Linked DNA regions of Homo sapiens: region 1 is linked to region 2. The links are contacts of gene promoters, found by promoter capture Hi-C in human tissues and cell types (Jung and others, 2019). All regions are on one chromosome and are shown on one strand. The core of a region is centred on a gene start or on the middle of the fragment in contact, and the rest is flanking DNA. Distances in the headings are between cores, read along the strand shown. Region 1 has its middle 41 kb from the start of LGI2. Region 2 holds the start of LGI2 (leucine rich repeat LGI family member 2).

Region 1 (5,307 bases), core at 2,378-4,877, 42 kb after region 2:
CATCTGCAGCGGCCTAGGAATCAATAGGGACACTGAGGGCTTCGGGAGCCAGGCCGGGAAGCAGGGAGGCCATGACAAGTCAAGCATCACTGCAATTTCATTAAAGACCTGGGGGTGACATCCAGCCATCGATTTTGTTTTTCACATTACTTTTCTCTGATTCAGTGCTTTGTGAAGATAGATGGCTGGAATACTGGCCAGAGAGAGGGCAGAAAGGAAGCCCAGGGAATCTGATGCACACACAGGCTAAGTGGTTTTTATCAGGATCCTCAGATGGACCCCAATTTTCTCATCAAAGAGAAAATAGCAAATACGTAGAAAGACGACCAAAGAATGCTGAGCTCTCACTTCACGACTCCAAATAAGAATGTGAAGGATTTAGGGAAGAGGCTTTGGGAGTTTCGCTTTGGGAATTGGAAAGGCCAAGTACAATGCTGAGCTGTTGCTAACTGGCTGTGTGAATTTGGGTGAATTACCCAACCTATTACTCAGTTTCCTCATTGGGAGAACAGGAAAATTACCACCTATTATGAGGGTTAAATGACCTAATACCATACCTTACCTTACAGTAAGCACTCAGGAAACATTGGCTACTGCTATTTTTGGTGGTGGTTTTTTTTTTTTGTTTTTTGTTTTTTGAGACAGAGTCTCACTCTGTCACTCAGGCTGGTGTTCAGTGGTGCTATCTCAGCTCACTGCAACCTCCACCTCCTGGGTTCAAGCAATTCTTCTGCCTCAGCCTCCTGAGTAGCTGGGACTACAGGCGTGCCACCGTGGCCAGCTAATTTTTTGTATTTTTAGTAGAGACGGGGTTTCACCATGTTAGCCAGGATGGTCACAATCTCCTTACCTCGTAATCCACCCGCCTCGGCCTCCCGAAGTGCTGGGATTACAGGTGTGAGCCACAGCGCCCAGCAGGTGGTGTTTTATTATTATTAGGTGGGTCTTATATAGGTGATGCAGGCCTTTGCAGGTGCTGTATTTTCTGCCTGAAAGGCTTCTTGCCTTTGTTTCTTCCCCTTCTTTAACACCCACTCCTCCTTCAAGACTGGAGTCAAATATCACCTCCTCCGGGAAGCCTTCCCTGCCCCCACAGGTCCTGGTTGACCTTCCCTACTCTGTGTCCCCACGGTGCCCTGTTCTTATGCTCATCATAGCACCTGCCACATTGTATTTAACACATTGCTCAGTGGACCAGAGCAACTGCAAGGCTGGAACTGGATCTCACTCATCTACCTGTTCAGTCCCCAGTACAGTGACAGGCATGTAATAGGTGCTCAAAACTTGTCTGATGCACGGAAGAATTAGATAGTATAATTTCAGGAGTCCTTGGAAATCTCTTGCTTTCAGAAATGCCTCTCCAAGTTCCTAAAATTCTACCATCAAAGCTTTTCTCTCTAGCCTAAGACTGATCCCGTTTAAATTTTAGATATGTCTCTCCCACCACCTGCTGTCCCATTGTATGTGGTACGTGCTCAACAAATATTTAAAGGATCAAATTGGGTTAGAATCAGGGTCTTATAGGAAAGGAATTTCAGACACAGCAAATCTGTTGGGTGCAGTGGCTCACACCTGTAATGCCAGGACTTTGAGACGCTGAGGTGGGAGGATCACCTGAGGTCAGGAGTTTGAGATCAGCCTGGGCAACATGGTGAAACTCTGTCTCTACTAAAAATACAAAAATTAACCAGGTGTGGTGGTGGGTGCCTGTAATCCCAGCTACCTGGGAGGCTGAGGCAGGAGAATCGCTTGAAACCAGGCAGCCGAGGTTGCAGTGAGCCGAGATTGCACCACTGCACTTTAACCTGGGTGATAGAGCCAGACTCCGTCTCAAAAAAAAAAACAAAAAAAAAAAATGACACCAGCAAATCAGAAAGGAGGAGGTGTGGAGAGAACATAGAAGGAAGCTTCTCAGCGGGGACCTCTCACTAAAACAGAAATTCAGCTCCTCCCACACAGGCAAAGTGCAAGGAAAGCGGTTTCTTCTGTTCCCCCTTTTCTTTAGGGTGCCATTTTCTCTTCTGGCTCTTCCAGGCCTTCCTCCAACTTCATCTCCTTGGTGAGGCTCCAGGCACCTTGGGTCACTTCAGGGCTCCAGAAGGACAGACTCTGCAGAGGGGCAATGCTTAACCCACAGGAAGGGTGATTTGAATTAAGTCGTCCTGTTGTGTACGTTTACTAATGCTTCCAGAAATTCTAAGAGTAGATGGTATCAGCTCCTTTTTACAGATAAGGAGAGTAAAGCTCAGAGAGATTAACACCTTGCCCAAAGTCACAGAGGGACTCAGATACAAAACAGACACAACATGGCACCAAACATGGAAGAGGCCCTTGGCGAATGCTGACAGGCTTGGTTTCCCCTTAGCCATCCACCAGCTTTTGTATATTTATTGAACACTTACTGTGTACCAGGTGCAGTGCACAGTCTTTACTTGCATCTCCCAGTTGAGTCTCCCAATAGCCCTTTCACTATCCCCATTGTGGAGATGAGGAAACTGAGGCACAGAGACGTTAAGTATTCGATCCAAGCTGTCCCCAGCTGATAAGGGACAGAACCAGAGTTTGAGCCTGAGCCTGTGCCCTCCCTTAGCACTGCCAGACAAAATGCATGGTGCCCAGTTACATTTACATTTCAGATAAATAACAAATACTGTTTTCGTACAAATATACCCCAATATTGCATGAGACATACAAAAAAATGATTCACTGCTGATCTGAAATTCAAATGCAACTAGGCATCTGGTATTTTAGTTGCTAAATCTGGCCACCGTACTCTATTTCAATGCTTGAGTAAAAAATATTTACCTCTCTGTTCTGTGAGGTTCATAATGTGGAAAGTTTTCTAACATTTTCTTTTCACTCTTGTTGTTGCTCTACATCCAACTTCACTTTTCTAAGTTCCCAGATGTATGTTCTATCTCTGGGTCATTTTTCTACACTTTCCTCTTCAAAGTTTTAAAAAGGTTATCAAGCTCTCGGCTTGTTGTGATGAAACAGATTTTGATATAGAATAGAGAAGAAACATTCTGTTGAAACACTTTTTTAAAAACAGGAGATAGTAGTGGGTGATGTGCTAAGAAGAAATGACATTATGTTTAGACCAAAGACTGGGAGAAGCAGCCTTGCTGGGTGACAGCCAGTCGAGACAGCCTTTCCTAATGGATAGTGCAAGCATTGTTTGGGGACATTTACTGCAGAATACGATGGGGTAAAGGCACCAAAGGTGAACAAAATATCATCCTTCATAGGCAGAAAACACAGGCTGTGACAGGAAATAAATTGCTGGTGAAGCATCTCTTAAAGAAGAATAGGTTTAAATGTCTGCCTGACTTGAGGACCAGAGGCTCCTGGGATTTTTGTCAACTGGAGGGATGGAGCTCAGCAAAAGAAGCTTGTTTTATTTTTCTTTTGGGGAATAGCAAGATGTACAGAGGGTAGTTTGGTGTGGAGAGAGGGACATATGAAAATGCCTAGCTTTTTGTACAGAAGTAAGCAGTTTTTTAAGGCCATATATTTAACCTCAAATAGATACTTTGAGAGCAATGTGGACAACACAATAGCAGCAGAGTGTAATGCCAAGGCCACCAAATAGGGTATCAGAGAGAAGTGGGGTTGAATACTGACTCCAGTGGCTATTAGCTATAAAAAGTGATATGGTTTGGCTGTGTCCCACCCAAATCTCATCTTGAATTGTAACTCCCACAATTCCCATATATGTGGGAAGGACCCAGTGGGAGGTAACTGAATCATGGGGATGGGTCTATCCTGTGCTATACTCATGGTAGTGAATAAGTCTCACAACATCTGATGGTTTTAGAAAGCAGTTTCCCTGAACAAGTTCTCTTCTCTTGTCTGCCACCATGTGAGATGTGCCTTTCACCTTCTGCCATGATTGTAAGGCTTCCCCAGCCACGTGGAACTGTGAGTCCATTAAACCTTTTTCTTCATAAATTACCCAGTCTCAGGTATGTCTTTATCAGCAGTGTGAAAATGAACTAATACAGTAAGTCATTGGGTCTCTCTATATTAGGGTAGGATAGGCTTTGCTGCAGTAATAAAATTGCACAATATCTCAATTTGATTTCTTGTTCATGCCCCAGTTTGATGCAGGTTGGACACCAATTCTTGATGGCTCTGTCCAAGCAGGGACTCAAGATTCAGATTCTTCTCATGTTTTAACACTGCCACCTTAAATATGTAGCCTCTTAGGTTGCTGCAGAAGGGTGAAAGAGTGTGGGAGATAGCACAGGGGGTTACAGCCAGGCTTGGAAATGATATTCATCACTTCTGCCTATTTTCTATTGGCTAGAACCTAGTAGTATGGCCCCACCTACCCTGCATAGAGGCTAGAAAAGGTGGTCTTCCAGTGTGAGCACATAGAATTGTCTCTGCCACACTGCATGGTCATCTGTTCAGTGGAGGTTGCGATAGCACCTACTGAGATAGTTGCTCTGTAATTAACTGCTTAATCGAGGGTAGTTATAATTATTTGATTTTATTTGAGCTGTTATAGGAATAACTAATCTGTCATAAAATGAGGTCTGGGTTGCAGTCAGATTCAGAGACAGAAAGTAGAATGCTGGTTGCCAGGGGCTAGCAGGAGGGAGGAATGGGGAGTTATTGTTGAATGGGCACAGAGTCTCAGTTTTGCAAGATGAAAAGGTTCTGAAAATGAATAGTGGGTGTATTAGTGCATTTTCACACTGCTATAAAGAAATACCCGATACTGGGTAATTTATAAAGGAAAGAGGTTTAATTGACTCACAGTTCTGCATGGCTGGGGAAGCCTCAGGAAACTTACAATCATGGGGGAAGGCAAAGGGGATGCAAGCTTAGGCCTTCTCACATGGTGGCAGGAGACAGAAGAGTGAGCAAGAGCAAGAAAAACTGCCTTAGAAAACCATCAGATCTCTTGAGAACTCACTCACTATCACGAGAACAGCATGGGGGAAACCGGCTCATGATCCAATCACCTCCCACCAGGTCCCTCCCTCAACACGTGGGGATTATGTGGATTACAATTTAAGATGAGATTTGGGTGGGGACACAGAGTCAAACCATATCAATGGGGATGGCTGCACAACATTGCATATAGAGTTAATGCCACCAAGCTGTATAGGTAAAAATGATTAAAGTGGTAAATTTTATGTTACGTATATTTTACCAAGATTTTAAAAATTAAAAAAGTATATATATATATATATATATATATATATATATATATATATATATAAAATTAGGTCTGGATTAACTCCAGATATGGGTTAACCTGGCCCAGGGACAGGATGACGGCTCTCTAGTGGCATT
Region 2 (5,659 bases), core at 844-3,343:
CTTCACTTCCTTTTCTTAACTACAGGAGGTCCTTGCCTGAAAATGGATAATCGCTTCACCTCTGCCCATGATTCTGTTTGTGTAGACACAGCGTTGTGTTGGCCTATGAAATGCTGGGGTAGGATTAAGCATTCCTCTTGGGACCCCATCTCTGAAAGACAGAGCACTCCTGATTAAATGCAACATGAAAGCCCTGGGGAAAAACTCACAGACACCTGAACTCCCCTGTGTGGGGAGAGGCAGTACCATCTGCCAGATAAAACGGTCAACCAGGAGGCAAGATGCTTGGCTTTATTTCTGCCCCCAGGCCCCCATCCTTTCTGGCCACAGCAGGATCTGAATACATTATTTCAGAATTCCTTTCAGTTGGCATGCAGATCACTTAAGCAGCTGCTGGTCTGAAGGATTTAATAAGGGGAACTCTAATTTCTGGAATCCTCCATGTCACCCGACTTAGCAATATTAAGAATCAAAAAGGTCCTCTGTTCCCACCAGCCAAACTCTTCTGACTTTCTATAAATGCAAATGGGAACCCCCTCACTCCTGGGTCCAGGCCCCTACAATTTGCCTTGGGTGGGAGGCTGGGAAGCACTGGACACAAGAAAGTATCTTGAGCACAAGCAACGTCACCCCGGGGATTCCCTGCCTCCACCACTGACTGGGCACCCAGGCATCTTGGCCTGGAACAAGAGAGTGGTCTTAGCAGGAAACATGTCCTAGCAGTAAAGATACAGCCCAACAGCCCCTTCCACCGCCCTTGTGAGAGCTGGTCATTTGGCTTGAGTGGCCAGGTGAGGGCAGGATGAAAGCACCTCTCGGCAGGTGGATACCTAATGTGAAGCCCTTTCCTGTCAGTTCCTCCTGCTGAAAAAGCAGCCAACACAACTGTGTGATGGAGAAAGGGGGCAAGAAGCCCTCCTGACCTCAGGGCAAGAAGGCTGACTTCAAAGCACTTGGCCACTGGGCTAGGCGCCCAACATGCCCCAAACCTCTGCCCAGCCTTCTGTTACCCCTCTTCTAGGCCACGGGGGGCGGCCCCTCCCCTCCCAGAGCCTGCATGCCTTGACCTCGACTTTTTGCAACCTGCAATGTGGAGAAGTCGGGAGGAGGCCACGGGGTGAACATTCGCCCCAGACCTGATGTGGGGCAGTGAGGCCTCACCCTGCCCAGTTTGCACTCAGTCAGGTCGTGTTCAGCTGCTCCTATGCACGCCCCTACACACACAACTCCAACCCGCAAACACACACACACACACGCACACGCCCTCTCAAACTTTAATGCACCCTTGAGTCTCCCGGGGACGTCAAACGCACACTCCAGGACTCCACTCCAAAGACTGCTTCAGAGCAGCTGGATTCTGCATTGGCACAAGCTTCCCCAGGTGAGTCTGATGCAGGTGGCCCGTGGGCCACACTCTGAGAAACGCTGCCACAGGAACCTGTCTGGGTTCCCAGATTCTGGGGCTCAGGTCCTCACCGTCCTCCCCGGGGGCCAACACTCCACCCACGTCCCCCACACAAAGGCAAAGAAGGGGCCTGGGGAGTGGGTCAGGGTCGCGCTGGCCCGGCGCCAGAGGCAACTCCCTCGCGGCGGCGGACGCAGGGTGGGGCGGGACGGGATGGGGGCTGGAGGGGTCCCACTCACAGGGAGCTGATGTCGCCCGGCACGATCCTGGGCACCCAGGAAGAGCCCACGCAGATGATAGACTCCTTGGTACAGCTGCAAGTGGCGGGGCAGCGCGCCAGCCGCCTCACCTGCGCGCTCCGCGGTATCAGGCACGCGGCGCCCAGCAGCAGCAGCAGCAGCCCGAGCGCTCCGCAGCCGCCTCTCCGCAGCGCCATGCCCGGTCCCCGCTCCCCGCCCGGGCCCCGACCCCCACCGCCGCGCCGCGCGCTCGGACCCGGCGCCGCTGCAGACGCGGGCGCCGCTCGCTGCTCTGCCGCCGCCGCTGCTGGCGAGGACTAGGGAGCCGCGGGTGTGGGAGGCCGAGCCGCAGCCGAGCAGCATGCTGGCCGCCACCCCCACTCGGCGCCCCCCCACCCGAGCCCGGGCTGCTGGGCGGCCGCCGCCGCTGCGCCCGCCGCACTCGCGCCTGCCTGACATCAGCACTCGCGCCCGCAGCCCGGCTCTGGCCAATGAATAATGCATGGCGGGGCCCGCCCCGCGGGGGAGGGGGCCAGCGCCGGCCCCGTGGCGCCCCACCCGGCCCCCACCTCGCCACCCCCTCTCGCCCCGGGCCGGGCGCGGGGACAGAGGGAAAAGTTGGGTGACCTTGGGGGAGGGGCCAAGCCTGGCGGAGACCCCCGTCGGGGCCTGACTGAGCGGTGGAGGATCCGATGCCTGCAATACCTCCAGGGGTATAATCTGGGGAGGGCACTGGGTTCCTTTCAGGCAAATCAATAAAGTCGGAGCGGGGAGTGTGGAGAACCGGCTTGATTACTGGGGAGGGAGGCAGCCCTGGGTGCTTTGAAGAGGAGAGACTTTGGAGCAGCCTTTATTAATTTTGAAGTGCATGCTGCCGGTAGGGTCAGCGAGGATGGCTTTGCTTGTCTTCTGCGGTGGGGCAGTGAGGTCTGGCTCTCGCTCCCACAGCACCAGGGGTTACTGAAGCCAGCCAGTCCTCCCATGGGAGGAACGTGGGGAAGCAAAGCCGCTGCAGCCTGCACGCCCGGCGCTCTGGGCCCTGCCTGCTGCCTGCTAAAGAGCTGGAAAGCCCGGGAAAGTTTCCCCTCGCTCAGCTGCCCACGGGTCACCCCACCCGCCCCAGTCAGAGGAGGGTTTGTAGAGATTGAGGGTGTGATACATTCTAGCCACTGTACTTTTAATCTTCTAACCTTTTGAGGCAGGTCCTACTTATATCCTTAATTTATTGATGAGGCTGCTGACGCCCAGAAAGCATCCTGACTGGCTGATGGTCCAGCAGCTCCTGGCTGGGCAGGATGGGGCTCGGAGCCTTGAAGGGCTACCTTAACTGGGCCCTCCTGAGCCCCTCTTCAACTCCTTAAGTTTGAAGCAATGAGCGGAAATCTTAACACAGGTAATGTGCGGCTGAGGAAATCAAAGAAAATGACCAAAGCGGAAACAAAGTAATGGCTAATAACCTGAACTGCTGGGAGAAGGGAATCACAGCACGACTGTCGAGCTGCAAACCAAGGAAAAGCATGCCAGATGCTAAAACCTACTCAGAAAAGTCAGTATCGAATGCAAAAGTAGGAATCATACTATTGCTTCTTCAGCAATTATTGTTGGTGATCCATTGACAAGATCCATGAGGACGGTATCAGGCTGGCTGCTGTGGGAGGGAACAAAGGAACAGCTCCTGTCCTCAGGGAGCTAAAAGTCTAGCTGGACAGACAACCCTAAAAGAGCAACTCCACTGGCTACAAGGGGGTCACAGACTGACCAAAAGAGGTTCAGGAATTGAAAGAGAGCTTTGCGTAGGCAACTTCATGGAGGGAGTTAGACATTCCCTGCTGGTGACTATGTAAAAAGCACCTGGCATCAGTACAAACCAGCCTGCATTTATCATCATTTAATTCTTGCATCTGTCCTGAGAAATGGGTCCTCCCATTTTATGGATGGGAACATTGAGCTCAGAGAAGTTTTTATCTTGTCCAAGATCACACAGGACATGGCCAGGGAGATCATACTCCACAACTGGCTGCTGTGTCTAACCCTCGCTGCTGTGTGGGCATGCATTTACAAATACTTTACTCAGCAAGCCCCAGTGTTAGGGGCTGAGGACACAGACCACAGCCTGGGAGGGCGACAGACATGCAGACCCACAATCGTGGATGTGTGTGCTGTGCACCTGAAAGATGTTTCCCTTAAGAGGGATGGGCTACTGCTTTATAGAGCAGAGGAACGGAGGCTTCTCAAACAGAGCACTCCCTGCTGACCCAGGAAAAGAAAATCTATTTCTCACCTCTGAGTGAGAGCCTGGGGGCAGGGTGGCATAGCTAAATGCTGGCCTCAGGACTAGACAGGTTGGGGTTTGCATCCCAGCCTACCACTTACTGATGTGTAATTGTGTAATCCCAGCCTGCCACTTACTGCTGTGCAAGCTGTGATCTTTCTAAACCTCCATTTCTTCACCTGTAAACAAGAGGTTGTTGTAACCACATTTGGGGGTTAAATGAGATCAAGAAAGTAAAGCATTTAATACCACAAAGGAGGCACTGGGCGTTTGAGCAGAGTTCTATGTGACTAGATTGTAGGTAAGTGACGGAGAGAGGACTATGGAGGGAGATGGGTTTTCCTGACTTCTGTCCTTCCATTGTAATCAGAGTCACTGTCTTGTGTTGTGGTTCTCAATTGCGGGTAATTCAGGGGACACTTGGCCATGTGTGGAGATATTTGGGGTGGGTGCCCCTGGCGTCTAATGTGTAGAGGCTGGGGACGCTACTAAACATCTTGCAGTACTCAGCAAGAATGATCCAGGTCAAAATGTTGCTAGAGCCAAGGTTGAGAGAGCCTGGCTTAGTGTTCTGGAAAGACCCTTGGCATGAGGAATTCCAGAGATGCAGATTGTAAGTCAGGTTCATCAATCACAAGCAAACCTTCTTGGTCATGTTATTCCCATCTCTAGCTTCTATTTTTTCATCTATAAAATGGGGATAAAGAGCCCTTCTGCACCCTTTCCTAAATAAATGTGACATATCATCATTGTTCCTAACCTTAACTTCCAACAGCTAGAGCTAGCTCCAGCCCACCCTCTCCACCCCAAAAAACTAAAAAGTTCCTGATAGGAATGGTGCAGAAAGTAGGCCAGAGTAGCATAGCTGGCAGAGTTAGTATTTGTTTCGGCTCTGCTAGAGACACTAAGTAAGTGAGTGCTTGTAAATTATAAGGCGCAGTTTATAAATTAAAATATAAAAATGGAAATGCAGATTACTTTGGTGTGGTTCCAAGTTCCTCAGCAGTTTAAAAAAAAACTTAATAGACAATCAGAGAGACACAATCTGTTTCAGGAAATAGCAAGAGTTTTTGAAAAATCTTTGTAAAAATCCTTGTTGAGACGTAAACTTACTCAAGCTATGTCTTTATGACATGAATAACACACGTTCCTACAGTGGCTGAAATGGCGTAGGCTTGAGTGGCCTTCTCTAAAGTCTCAAACCGGTTCTACTTTATATGACTCCATGTGTTGGCAGCTCAAAATGGCATTCATTCATGTGTTCATGTACCCTCATGTTCAGCTACTTGTCAGTTAATTCTGTCAGTATTAACTGAGAACCTACTATGTGCTGGGCATCAATAATAAAACAATGACCAAGACAGACATGATCCCCACTTTCATTGCAGACAGATATTAAATTAAAAGAATGCATACATGAGTATGCAATTGCAAATTTTGATAGAGCCTATGAAGGAAGAGAATAGGGGAGACCTAATTTAGGTGTGTATTAGTCCATTTTCATGCTGCTGATAAAGACATACTGGAGACTGGTTAATTTATAAAGAAAAAGAGGTTTGATGGACTCATAGTTCCACATGGCCTCATGGGGAGGCTTCAAAATCATGGTGGAAGGTGAAAGGCATGTCTTACATGGTGGCAGACAAGAGAAAATGAGAGCCAAGCAAAAGGGGTTTCTCCTTACAAAATCATCAGATCTTGTGAGACTTATTCACTAACACGAGAACACTATGGGGGAAACCA

What was found. Contacts are between HindIII fragments. The study calls those that stand out against the background at their distance.
Region 1: a contact is called between a fragment that was not itself captured here and the fragment with the promoter of LGI2 in region 2, in 3 of the 25 tissues and cell types used here (aorta, neural progenitor cells and thymus).

The regions. Positions count from the first base shown.
Region 1 is chr4:25,069,635-25,074,941 of GRCh38, forward strand. No RefSeq gene overlaps it. Among named protein-coding and RNA genes, the nearest start is that of LGI2, 41 kb to the left of the region's middle. The HindIII fragment of the contact is 3,960 bases long and covers 1,648-5,307 here.
Region 2 is chr4:25,028,853-25,034,511 of GRCh38, forward strand. It overlaps LGI2 (leucine rich repeat LGI family member 2), which reads right to left and starts at 2,094. Exons shown (of 8, transcript NM_018176.4): 1 at 1,645-2,094. The coding sequence starts at 1,841. It overlaps LOC124900684 (a long non-coding RNA gene), which reads left to right and starts at 1,256. Exons shown (of 2, transcript XR_007058083.1): 1 at 1,256-1,381. The HindIII fragment of the contact is 9,452 bases long and covers 1-5,659 here.